Regions from separate parts of the Homo sapiens genome. Here all the other regions are linked to region 2. Evidence: promoter capture Hi-C in human tissues and cell types (Jung and others, 2019). All regions are on one chromosome and are shown on one strand. The core of a region is centred on a gene start or on the middle of the fragment in contact, and the rest is flanking DNA. Distances in the headings are between cores, read along the strand shown. Region 1 overlaps UBE2R2 (ubiquitin conjugating enzyme E2 R2). Region 2 holds the start of UBAP1 (ubiquitin associated protein 1). Region 3 overlaps UBE2R2 (ubiquitin conjugating enzyme E2 R2). Region 4 overlaps UBE2R2 (ubiquitin conjugating enzyme E2 R2).

Region 1 (2,700 bases), core at 63-2,562, 270 kb before region 2:
TCTGAAAGTGATTCCATATTCACGTATTTGGTTTTCTTCTCCATAACCACGTGTACTCAAGACTATTGTTCAGCACCTCAATGGACATATTTATAACATAAAGTGGCAAATGGAGCACTTTTGTAACTTGAAGAATAAGGGACTCCAGTTACCTTCAAGAGTCTAAGTCAGTCTGTATTATCAGATCTGGTGAGTAGTGAGAGTTAGCCAACCTGAAAAGGAAGAATTTTAGGGATGCAGAGAATCAGCCAACTGGTGTTCACTAAAGGCTCGGTAGCTTGCTACCTCTTGGGAAAACCAGCATACTTCTTTTGAAAGAAAACATCCACAGGCCTCCTCCTCCCAGAGGCCCAGGATTAAATTGGTGGGGCTGGAGGTGGTGGGGAGAGTTTCTTCCTGAATTGGAAAGTTTTAAGGAGTAGGCATTTGTCAGCAAGAATGGAGTTGGGAGTTGCCACACGTCTTTGATTAGAAGTTCACAGCATTATGCCTCTTCCTGATGGAGGAAACAAAATGTGCCTTAATACATGATTTGTCTAGAATGATGTGGGAGCTTTGGGGATAGGGTAGGGTGGGAGTGGGAGTAGCAAAGCCCTCAGACTTTGCTATAGAGTTCACAGCTGCTTTCTGTGAGACACCATCCCCAGAACTACTATCTGCTATAGGCTCTGGGATGGTGAAGTGGTCTTGGTGTGGATTTGCTTTATGTTGAAAGAGGCATACATAATGTTTTCTTTTTCAATTTCAAAAATAAAGCGTGAAACCAAATTTATTAACCCAATCAAGAGAGGCTGTTGTTTGGTATAAAAGAGTCTGTCTCAGAAGTGGGGTAGGATATTTTTCTGTCTAGTCTTAAGAACAGAGAGCCAGAGACATCACCCCTAGCATTGGGTGCCAAAGTAAGCACAGTCAGGGGAAACAGGCATAACCATGCTGTTCCTAAAGCTCTTTTAAACCCAATTCTGGAACAGTGTGGTTTTATTTATTTGCTTCCTTGGTTTTTGTGCATGGGGTCCCACTGCCCTCAACCTGCCAATTCCATTCTCTGCAGATGATACATAATTTGGGCATTTAAAAACTGTAGTTGTATTCCTACCTTGCATTCTCAGGGATACATCAGTCAGCAGCAGATCCAGCACTGCACAGAAGGAGGTGTTATATTTGTTGGTTGCTTTAGCAGCCTAAAGAGAAACTTTATAATAATGTAAACCCGTTAAGCTACTATATTTTACCATCAGTTGCCCTGTTTTCCCTATCATAACAGGCTTCTTTATTCTTTGTCATGATGTCCTCTTTAAATCCCTCCCCCACATTGAAACATGCAATGAGGACTGAGCTTTAACTAGTCATCTGTAGTTACTGGCCCATCCTTTGATAGAGTGGAAATGAGAGATTTTAAGGACCCAGGACAACTAGAAAGGTCAGGGTAGAACCCAGAGTCAGTAAGAGTGGTAGTAACAGTATGCAGGATTTAGGTTTGGCTCCAGAGACCTGGACTTCACACATCAACTGTCATCACATTACGCTGGGTCTATAAAACTCAATATCTAAATCAATCTGCGTGTGTGTTTGTGTGTGTGCACATGTGCATACATGCATGCTTGCCCATGATTATGGCGTGAAGTAAGTTCAGGTTTTGTTGTTGTTGTTGTCGTCGTCGTCGTTGTTGCTGTTGTTGTTGTTGTTGTTGTTGTTTTGAAATGGAGTTTTGCTCTTGTTGCCCAGCTGGAGTGCAATGGTGCGATCTCAGCTCACTGCAAACTCCGTCTCCTGGGTTCAAGCAATTCTCCTGCCTCAGCCTCCCAAGTACTTGGGATTACAGGCATGCACCACCATGCCCAGCTGATTTTGTATTTTTAGTAGAGACAGGATTTTTCCGTGTTAGTCGGGCTGATCTTGAACTCCCAACCTCAGGTGATCCGCCCACCTCGGCCTCCCAAAGTGCTGGGATTATACTTGTGAGCCACCACACCTGGCATAAGCTTAGATTTTTTGGTTTTTAGGAATAAGCCCTTTCTACTTCTCCCATGCTGTCTGGAGGGATGATATATACATGGGAGGTGGGACCAGGGGAAGGTGCCAGTCTGTAATCCTTCAAAATTATGAACTTTTCTTGCTTGGTTTCCAGGCAGACCCTCGAGCCAGGTCTTATTTGTGATGCTAGGGCTATCACAACCCTGTTAAAGTTATGCTTATGGTGACATAGTAGCTAACAGAGAAAGGGTTATCGACATGTTGAAAATGGGCAAATGGAGTATTACGCATTGGGTCATACAATCCTAATTTCCAATTTCCCTTAAATACTTCTTTAGGCCAGGCGCAGTGGCTCATGTCCTTAATCCTAGCAACTTGGGAGGCCAAGGCAGGTGGATTGCTTGAGCCCAGGAGTTCAAAACCAGCCTGGGCAACATGACGAGATTCCATCTCTACCAAAAAAATTAGCCAGGCATGGTAGTGTGCACCTGTAGTCCCAGCTACTCAGGAGGCTGAGGTGCAAAGATCACTTGAGCCCAAGTGGTCAAGGCTTCAGTGAGCTGTAATTCTGCCACTGCACTGGAGCCTGGGGGCCGGGTGAGACCCAAGTTTGCTTTGTCTTTTAAACACATATGAGCTCTGCAGAACTTCACAGCTTGATTTGCTGTTGGCTAGTCTGCAATATATATTATATATGATGTGTTGGTCTTCATTTTCTTTGAGGGT
Region 2 (2,700 bases), core at 4-2,503:
ATCCTCCTATCTCAGCCTCCTGAATAGTTAGGACCACAGGCACATGCCACCACGCCCAGATAATTTGAGTTTTTGTAGAGACAAGGTCTCACTATGTTGCCCAGGCTCACCTAATTTTTACCAAACTTTTTGTAGAGACGGGGGTCTCATGTTGCTTAAATTGGTCTTGAACTCCTGGGCTCAAGAGTCATCTTATTCAATTAATAATTCTCTGTCTCCTAATTCCAGCAGACATAGAAAGACACAGAAGGCCAGCGCCATGGCTCACGCCTACAATCCCAGCAATTTGGGAGACTGAGGCTTGAGCCCAGAAGTTTACCACCAGCCTGGGCAACATGGTGAGACCCCGTCTCTCCATATATATATATAAAATAATAAAAATTATCCGGGCGTGTTGGCATGTGGCTATAGTCCAAGCTACTCAGAAGGCTGAGGTGGGAGGATCACTTGAGCCCGACAGGTGGAGGTTGCAGGGTTGCAGTGCGCCAACATCGCGCCACTGCACTCCAGCCTAGGCGACAGAGCGAGACCCTGTCTCAAAAAAACAAAAAACACCCCAAACAGAAACAACAACAACAACAAAAACCCCCACAGAAGGCAGTGAAGGCTTGGGATAGGATTACCTGGTTTAAACCCATAGAATGTCAGAATTGAAGGAAGACTTAGAGGTCACCTTTGTTTTTTTTTCTTTTGATACAGAGTCGCGTTCCGTTGCCCACCTGGAGTGCAGTGGCGCGATCACGGCTACCGCAGCCTCGACCTCCCGGGCTCAAGCGACCCTCCTGCCTCGGCCTCTCAAAGTGCTGGAGTTACAGGCGTGAGCCACTGCGCCCGGCCTAGAAGTCACCTTTCAACTTAGTCCTCTATACATGGGAAAAGTGAGGTCCAGAAAGGGTATGAGTTGTACCAGGTCGCTGACCCTGAACAGAAGCTAGATGTCTTAATTCCCAAATAGGACTCGCTGCTAACTCTTTGGGCATACCTTCGCGATTCAAGGCTCTTGGGTTTCCCGCTTTGGCCGCCTCGCCAAACCCAAGTCTTACACTCTTAGTGACCCCCTCCTTTCCTCCTTCCCCCTTAGGTCAGCAGGGTTTACTCATTCCAATTGCAATGCTCCATGTTGCCGGAGTAGCTCCTCGCTAGAAGAGAGATTAGTTATGTCACCGTCGGCTCCTCCCATTGGTCCGGGCGTGTGGAGCGCGGCGCCATGACGTCAGACGCCCAAATGAGTGGGGCGGTGAGGGGAAGGAGGAGGGAAGTAGGACTTCAACATGGCGGCTGCGGCACTGGCGGTGGCTACGGTGACGGCCTGGCCCGGAGCGGGCAGAGTTGGAGGTGGTGGCGTTCGCTCTCCCTAGGGGCTGTCGGGAGCTCAGCGGGGACCGAGCCTGGGAGGCCGGCCGGTGCCAGCACCTTTCGGCTTCTGAGACGGCGGCAGCAGCGGCATTCAGGTGAGGGGGGCCTCCCTCTGGGGGAGGGGGAAGAGGGGCGGAGTTGGGGGAGGGGGGCTGGTACTGGGAGACTGGGAAACGGGATGGGGGGCCGAGCGAGGTGAAGGGCGCCGGAGCTAGGAGGTGGGAGGGAAAAGTGGCCGGAGATCCGCGATTCGGGGAGGATTCTGGGAGAAGGGTCGGAGTGAGGGGACCGGAGTTGAAGGGGCGGAGGGGAAGTGGGATGCGGAAAAATGAGTTCGGATTAAGGAGACTAATACCCTACTGGAAGACAGGCATAGTAGACATCTATCGGGCTGGACTGAGAACTCGGTGGGAACTAGAGGATGTCAGGGAGGGGGACCCAGATTTTAGTAAAGAAGGTGAGTGGTGGGGAGTTGAGGGTGAGCTGGGGACGTGCGGTGTAGATTTAGTTCTCCCTGAGGCAATGAGATTGGGGAGAAAAGGTGGAGACTAGACCAGAGGTGAGTGATCTTTGGGGATATCTTTGGCCTTGTCTGGTCTTCTCCAGGTATGTTTATCCGCCTTTTTTGTTTCTTGGGTGGAGGCTTACCTATACAGTCCACCTGGGCCTCAGGAACCGCCCCAGTCTTTCTTGTGGAACGTCAGGTTCATTTATTTGAGCTATATCAGTGATCTTTGACCTTTGTTGCCAAATGTAATTGTTTCCAGACTAGCGTCTTAAAAGTATGGTTGGGCATAAAAATACGTTTTATGTTAAACTGAAAAAAAAATTGTTACTTTTAGTCACCATGCAGTGTTGCGAAACCAGATTTGGTAATTTAGTTAAGTATTACGTATATTCTGTTCTAACTTTACTCGTTAGTGCTTTGTCTCTTCAGTTATTAGCATTTGAGAATTTGAATAGATATGATGGATGTTTTCCTTTTTAATTTTGTCAGATTTGATGGTGGGAAAAACAAGATACTTAGTCTTTAGTGATATATAGTTCTTTCTAGTTAATGTCCCAACCTAAACTAAAAGTTTCCGTATTGGCCGGGCGCTGTGGCTCACGTCTGAAATCCCAGCACTTTGGGAGGCCGAGGCGGGCGGATCACGAGGTCAAGAGTTCAAGACCAGCCTGACCAACATGTTGAAACCCTTTCTCTACTAAAAAGCCAGCCGGGCGTGGTGGCAGGCGCCTGTAATCCCAGCTACTCGGGTGGCCGAGGCAGGAGAATGGCTTGAACCTGGGAGGCGGAGGTAGCAGTGAGCCTAGATCGCTGCATTGCACTCCAGCCTGGGCAAC
Region 3 (2,700 bases), core at 33-2,532, 340 kb before region 2:
AATTAGCTGGGCGTGGTGGGAGGCGCCTATAATCCCAGCTACTCACCTACAATATTCAGTATAGTAACATGCTGTACAGGTTTGAAGCCTAGGAGCAATAGGCTATACCATATAGCCTAGATGTGTAGGAGCCTATACCATCTAGGTACAAGTATACCATTTTTGTGTAAGCATGCTGTATGATGTTCACACAATGATGAAATTGCCTAATGATGCATTTCTCAGAACATATTCCTGTCATTAGGCAACATATGACTGTAATTCAGTGGTTTTTAGTCAGAATTGTGCAATCATCACCACAGTCAATTTTAGAATATTTTGCTGGGCTTGGTGGCTCATGCCTATGATCCCAGTACTTTGGGAGGCAGAGGCACGCAGATCATTTGAGGTCAGGAGTTTGAGAGCATCCTGGCCAACATGGCAAAGCCCCATCTCTACTAAAAATACAAAAAATTAGCCAGACATGGTGGCACATGCCTGTAGTCCCAGCTACTCGGGAGGCAGAGGCAGGAGAATCACTTCAACCTGGGAGGCAGAGGATGCAGTGAGCCAAGATCATGCCACTGTACTCCAGCCTGGGCAACAGAGCAAGACTCTTATCTCAAAAAAAAAAAATATATATATATATATTCTTGAGGAAGTGTGCCTAGCAGGTAAATTTTTTGAAGCTTTATTCTAACTTTATACTTGAAATTACTTGGCTGGGTATAGAATTCTAGATTGGAAATCCTGTAGCTTTAGAATTTCGAGGACATTACTGTATTGGGTTCTTAGTTCCAAAGATGATGTTTGAAATTCAAGAATGTTCTAAATCCTGTGCATGGTATGTGAAGAGTTTTTTCTTCTGGAAGTTTGCAGGACTCTGTGTGTCCCTGATTTCTTAAATTTCACATTGCTGTAGGTACTTTTAAACTCATGTTTTTCAGCATTGGGAAATTTTCTTGAATTATTTCAAGATATTTTCTCCTCTATGTTTTTCCTCATGTTTTTTGGGGAGCACCCATTATCTGGATATAGAACAGTCTGAATTAATTCTTCTAATTAACATATCTTTTTCTCTTTTTTTTCCTTTATTTGTTTTTGAGACAGAATCTTGCTTTGTGGCTTAGGCTGGAGTGCAGGGGTGCGATCAAGGCTCACTGCAGCCTCAGCCTCCTGGGCTCAAGCGATATTCTTATCTCAGCCCCGACCATGCACAGTGCTGTGATTACAGGTATGAGCCACTGTGCCCAGCCTCTTATTTTCAGTTTAGGCAGCTGCTGCTTCTTTTTTTTTTTTTTTTTTGAGACAGGGTCTGCTCTTGCTCTGCTGCCTAAGCTGGAGTGCAGTGGTGCGAACATAGCTTACTGCAACCTCTGCCTCCTGGGCTCAAGAGATTCTCCCACCTCAGCCTCCTAAGTAGCTGAGACTGTAGGCACCTGCTACCACACCCAGCTAATTTTTATATTTTTAGTAGAGATGGGTTTTGCTGTGTTGCCCAGGCTGTTCTTGAACTCCTGAGCTCAATTGATCTACCTGCCTTAGCCTCTCATTGTGCTAGGATTACAGAGCCACCACACCTGGCCTGTTCTTGTTTTTTAATAGAGACAGTGTCTCAATATGTTGCCCAGGCTGGTCTCAAACTCTGGGCTCAAGCATTCCTCCTACAGTGTTAAGATTGCAGGTGTGATCCACTGGGCTTAGCCAACATTCTGTTTTTGATGTCTTGGTTTTGATGTCTTGATCATGGTTGTCGTTTCTCCTATTAACTCCCTGAAGACATCATGTATATACAGATATATAGGTAAATATATATAGCTTATATAGAAGTATACATAGTTTTATGTATGTGTAATTATATGTCTCATATATAAGCCATTATTTACAGTTGTCCTTCAGTATCCATAGGGGGAGTTCCAAGGACCCCCACTGATACCAAAATCTTGAATGGTCAAGTCCCTTATATAAAATGATATAGTATTTACATTTAACCTGTGCACATTCTCCCATATGCTTTATTTTTTTAATTTATTTTTTTGAGATGGAGTTTTGCTCTGTTGCCCAGGCTGGAGTGCAGTGGCAGTCTAGCTGTATTTTTTAGTTTGTATTATTTTTTATTGCTTTTTTTACTGTTTTTTTTTTCTTGTTTTTTTTTCGCTTGAATATTTTTGATCCACTGTTGGTAGAACCCAGGGATATGGAGGGCCTACTGTGTATACGTATATAATGTTTATATATATGTATGTACATATATATATACATTTTTAATACATTTTACTTTTCCTGCATGGACTGTTTTCTTCACGTTGAGTTGTATTTTAAGTGTTTCATGGTAAACTTTCCTGAGATGTTTGCTAATGTTAATCTGCTTAATAGTTTTTTTTTAAATTGAGGTGTATGTACATACAATAAAATGTGTATATCTTGGCTGGGCATGGTGGCTCACGCCTGTGATCCCAGAACTTCGGGAGGCTGAGACAGGTGGATTATGGATTCTTAATTTACTACAGTTTAGTTTATGTTAGTTGGTTTTATTACTTCCCAGGAAATGCAAGAACCGTACATTTAGCTCTTTACCTCCTTCTTGTCCTTTGCCCTATTGATGGTATATTTTCTTATAAACCTCTAAAGCAACAGTATTATTGTTTTACATAGTTGCTGTGGTCTGGCCAGTCGTGGTGGTTCACGCCTGTAATCCCAGCACTTTGGGAGGCCGAGGTG
Region 4 (2,700 bases), core at 126-2,625, 290 kb before region 2:
TTTATTTGTGTGCCTATCCTCTAACTTCACAGCAAGGGTCACCTGTTCCTATGGGTGAGAGATTCAGCTTTTGGTAGGGGGAGCGGGATTTATCCCATTACATTTGGACTGGCCTCCTTTTAGGAATTGCTGCTGAACATTTGGGAGGCTCTTTTGGAATAAATTCAAGGTGAGGTTCTTGTACTAGACAAGTGCACATGCCTGGGGGAAGCATTTCTAGCTTTGTTGATGAAACGTACTTAGCTTTGGGCTAATCCATAAGGATACTAGAATAATGCATTCTGTTTCTCAGGTTGATATATGAGGGCCCGCTAGTTTTTTTCCTTTGAGGCTACTCTTCACTATTCTATAAGTGTGCTTTTTTGTTTGTTTGTTTGTTTGTTTGTTTGTTTGTTTGTTTGTTTTTGAGACAGTCTCGCTCTGTAGCCCAGGCTGGAGTGCAGTGGCGCAATCTCGCTCACTGCTACCTCTGCTTTCCGGCTCCCAGTTCAAGCAGTTCTCCTGCTTCAGCCTTCCGAGTAGCTGGGATTACAGGCATGCGCCACCATGCCCAGCTAATTTTTGTATTTTTAGTAGAGATGGGGTTTCACCATGTTGGCCAGGCTGTTCTTGAATTCCTGACCTCGTGATCCACCCACCTCGGCCTCCCAAAGTGCCGGGATTACAGGCGTGAGCCACCGCGCCTGGCCTACTATTCTAAAAGTGTGTTTTTAAATCTCCAAATGTTTTGGGGATTTTGCAGGTATCTTTCTGTTAGGAACTTCCAGTTAAATTCCGTTGTGATCTGAAAGCAGACATTGTATGATTTCTATTTTTAAAAATTTGTCAGTATGTGCCTTATGGCCCAGAATGTGGTATATCTTCATGAAAGTTCCATGTGAACTCAAGAACAATGTGTAATCTGCAGTTACGAGTGTAGTAGTCTATAATGCTCATTATATACACTTGAAGAATGGTGTTGCTGAGTCCAGCTATGTCTTTACTTATTTTCTGCCTGCCAGCTCTGTCCATTTCAAAAAACAAAAAAACAAACAAAAAAAAATTCTGTAATCTTTTATTTGCAATATGGTTTTGCAGTGGTCTCATTTTTTCGTAGCAGCATCCCAAGCATTGAAATTGCTTTAGAGTCTTGCCATCTTAGTCATGCATCAGTTCTTTTTTTTGGCCCTGTGGATGTTGGAAGTACCTTTGCTCCAGAAACTGAGCTAACATCACCTTTAAATTACTTTTATTTTATTTATTTATTTGTTATTTGAGATGGAATCTCTGTCACCCAGGCTGGAGTGCAGTGGTGCGATTTCAGCTAACTGAACCTCCACCTCCTGGGTTCAAGCGATTCTCCTGTCTCAGCTTCTTGGGTAGCTGGGACTACAGGTGTGCACGACCACACCTGGCTAATTTTTGTATTTTTAGCAGAGACAGTGTTTCACCATGTCGGCCAGAGTGGCCTCGAACTTCTGACCCCAAGTAATCCACCTGCCTTGGCCTCCCAAAGTGCTGGGATTACAGGGTAAGCCACCATGCCCGGCCACCTTTAAATTGCTTTTAGGCAAGAAATGGAGAACTCGCTCTAGGGTCTTGAATTTGGAGTTCATTCTGTATAAATGAGCACATTGGGGCAGCTGTGTCATTTTCCACAGTCTGTTTCTTATGTAAGATATCTTAATTTTTCTTTTTCAGACAGAACAGACTGGTACTGAAATGATATATAGTTTTCTTTTTAGAAATAAGCTTTCTAAATATTGTTTAATATTTGACATAATATAAATAAACAATAGTGACTACACTGTTCTGTGTAACAACATTATCTTCCTTTTGTAGGAAAGAGTCTGTAGAAATAATTCATTGTTTCCTAAGTTCAAACTGAGTTCAGTACGCACAGCAGTATTTTGGTGTCTGTCTTAGTACATTTGCTTAGACTGGATAATATATTAACAACAGAAATTTATTGCTCACAATTCTGGAGGCTGGGAATTCCAAGACCAAGCCACCAGCACATTTGGTCTGTTGAGGGCTTGTTTTTCAAGCCTGTTTTGTTGCATCTTTATGGGAGAAGAGGCAAGGCAGTTCTCTCTTGCCTCTTTCTTTTTTTTTATTTTTAGTAGAGACAGGGTTTCACCGTGTTAGCCAGGATGGTCTCGATTGCCTGGCCTCATGATCTGCCCACCTTGGCCTCCCAAGGTGCTGGGATTACAGGCGTGAGCCACCGCACCCGGCCCTCTCTTGCCTCTTTCATAAGGGTGCTAATCCCATTCATGGGTGACACCAAAATTCAGACCATAACAATGTCCCTGTCTAATAATTAAAGGTTTTTGCCTTTACAGTTACGTGGTGTATATATAGATTTTAGATAGCAAGAGAGAAGTGAGAAGGAGCAAACTTTTGTCTTGCAATTGAGAGCTAATTACTTTTGTGTTTTTGAGATGGAGTCTCGTTCTGTCACCCAGGCTGGAGTGTGGTGGCATGATTTCAGCTCACTGCAACTTCTGCCTCCCTTCAAGGATTCTTTTGCCCCAGCCTCCTGAGTAGCTGGGACTACAGGTGTGCACCACCACACCCAGCTAAGTTTTGTATTTTTAGTAGAGACAGTGTTTCACCATATTGGTCAGGCTGGTCTCTAACTCCTGATTGTGATCCTCCCACCTCGGCCTCCCAAAGTGCTGGGGTTACAGGCGTGAGCCACCGCACCCAGCAGAGAGT

Evidence for each region. The method cuts DNA at HindIII sites, captures the fragments that hold promoters and counts their contacts. A contact is called where the count stands out against the background at its distance.
Region 1: a fragment that was not itself captured here is called in contact with the fragment with the promoter of UBAP1 in region 2 in 3 of the 25 tissues and cell types used here (mesenchymal stem cells, spleen and thymus).
Region 3: a fragment that was not itself captured here is called in contact with the fragment with the promoter of UBAP1 in region 2 in 2 of the 25 tissues and cell types used here (dorsolateral prefrontal cortex and hippocampus).
Region 4: a contact is called between a fragment that was not itself captured here and the fragment with the promoter of UBAP1 in region 2, in 1 of the 25 tissues and cell types used here (dorsolateral prefrontal cortex).

What each region holds. Positions count from the first base shown.
Region 1 is chr9:33,904,444-33,907,143 of GRCh38, forward strand. The region is part of intron 3 of UBE2R2 (ubiquitin conjugating enzyme E2 R2); the gene reads left to right. Among named protein-coding and RNA genes, the nearest start is that of SNORD121B, 29 kb to the right of the region's middle. The HindIII fragment of the contact is 6,422 bases long and covers 1-2,700 here.
Region 2 is chr9:34,177,790-34,180,489 of GRCh38, forward strand. It overlaps UBAP1 (ubiquitin associated protein 1), which reads left to right and starts at 1,254. Exons shown (of 7, transcript NM_016525.5): 1 at 1,254-1,451. RefSeq lists enhancers at 303-1,261, 1,067-1,496, 1,262-2,218, 2,219-2,700. The HindIII fragment of the contact is 11,539 bases long and covers 1-2,700 here.
Region 3 is chr9:33,836,155-33,838,854 of GRCh38, forward strand. The region is part of intron 1 of UBE2R2 (ubiquitin conjugating enzyme E2 R2); the gene reads left to right. Among named protein-coding and RNA genes, the nearest start is that of UBE2R2-AS1, 19 kb to the left of the region's middle. The HindIII fragment of the contact is 6,070 bases long and covers 1-2,700 here.
Region 4 is chr9:33,887,286-33,889,985 of GRCh38, forward strand. All of the region lies in intron 2 of UBE2R2 (ubiquitin conjugating enzyme E2 R2), which reads left to right. Among named protein-coding and RNA genes, the nearest start is that of SNORD121B, 46 kb to the right of the region's middle. The HindIII fragment of the contact is 8,086 bases long and covers 1-2,700 here.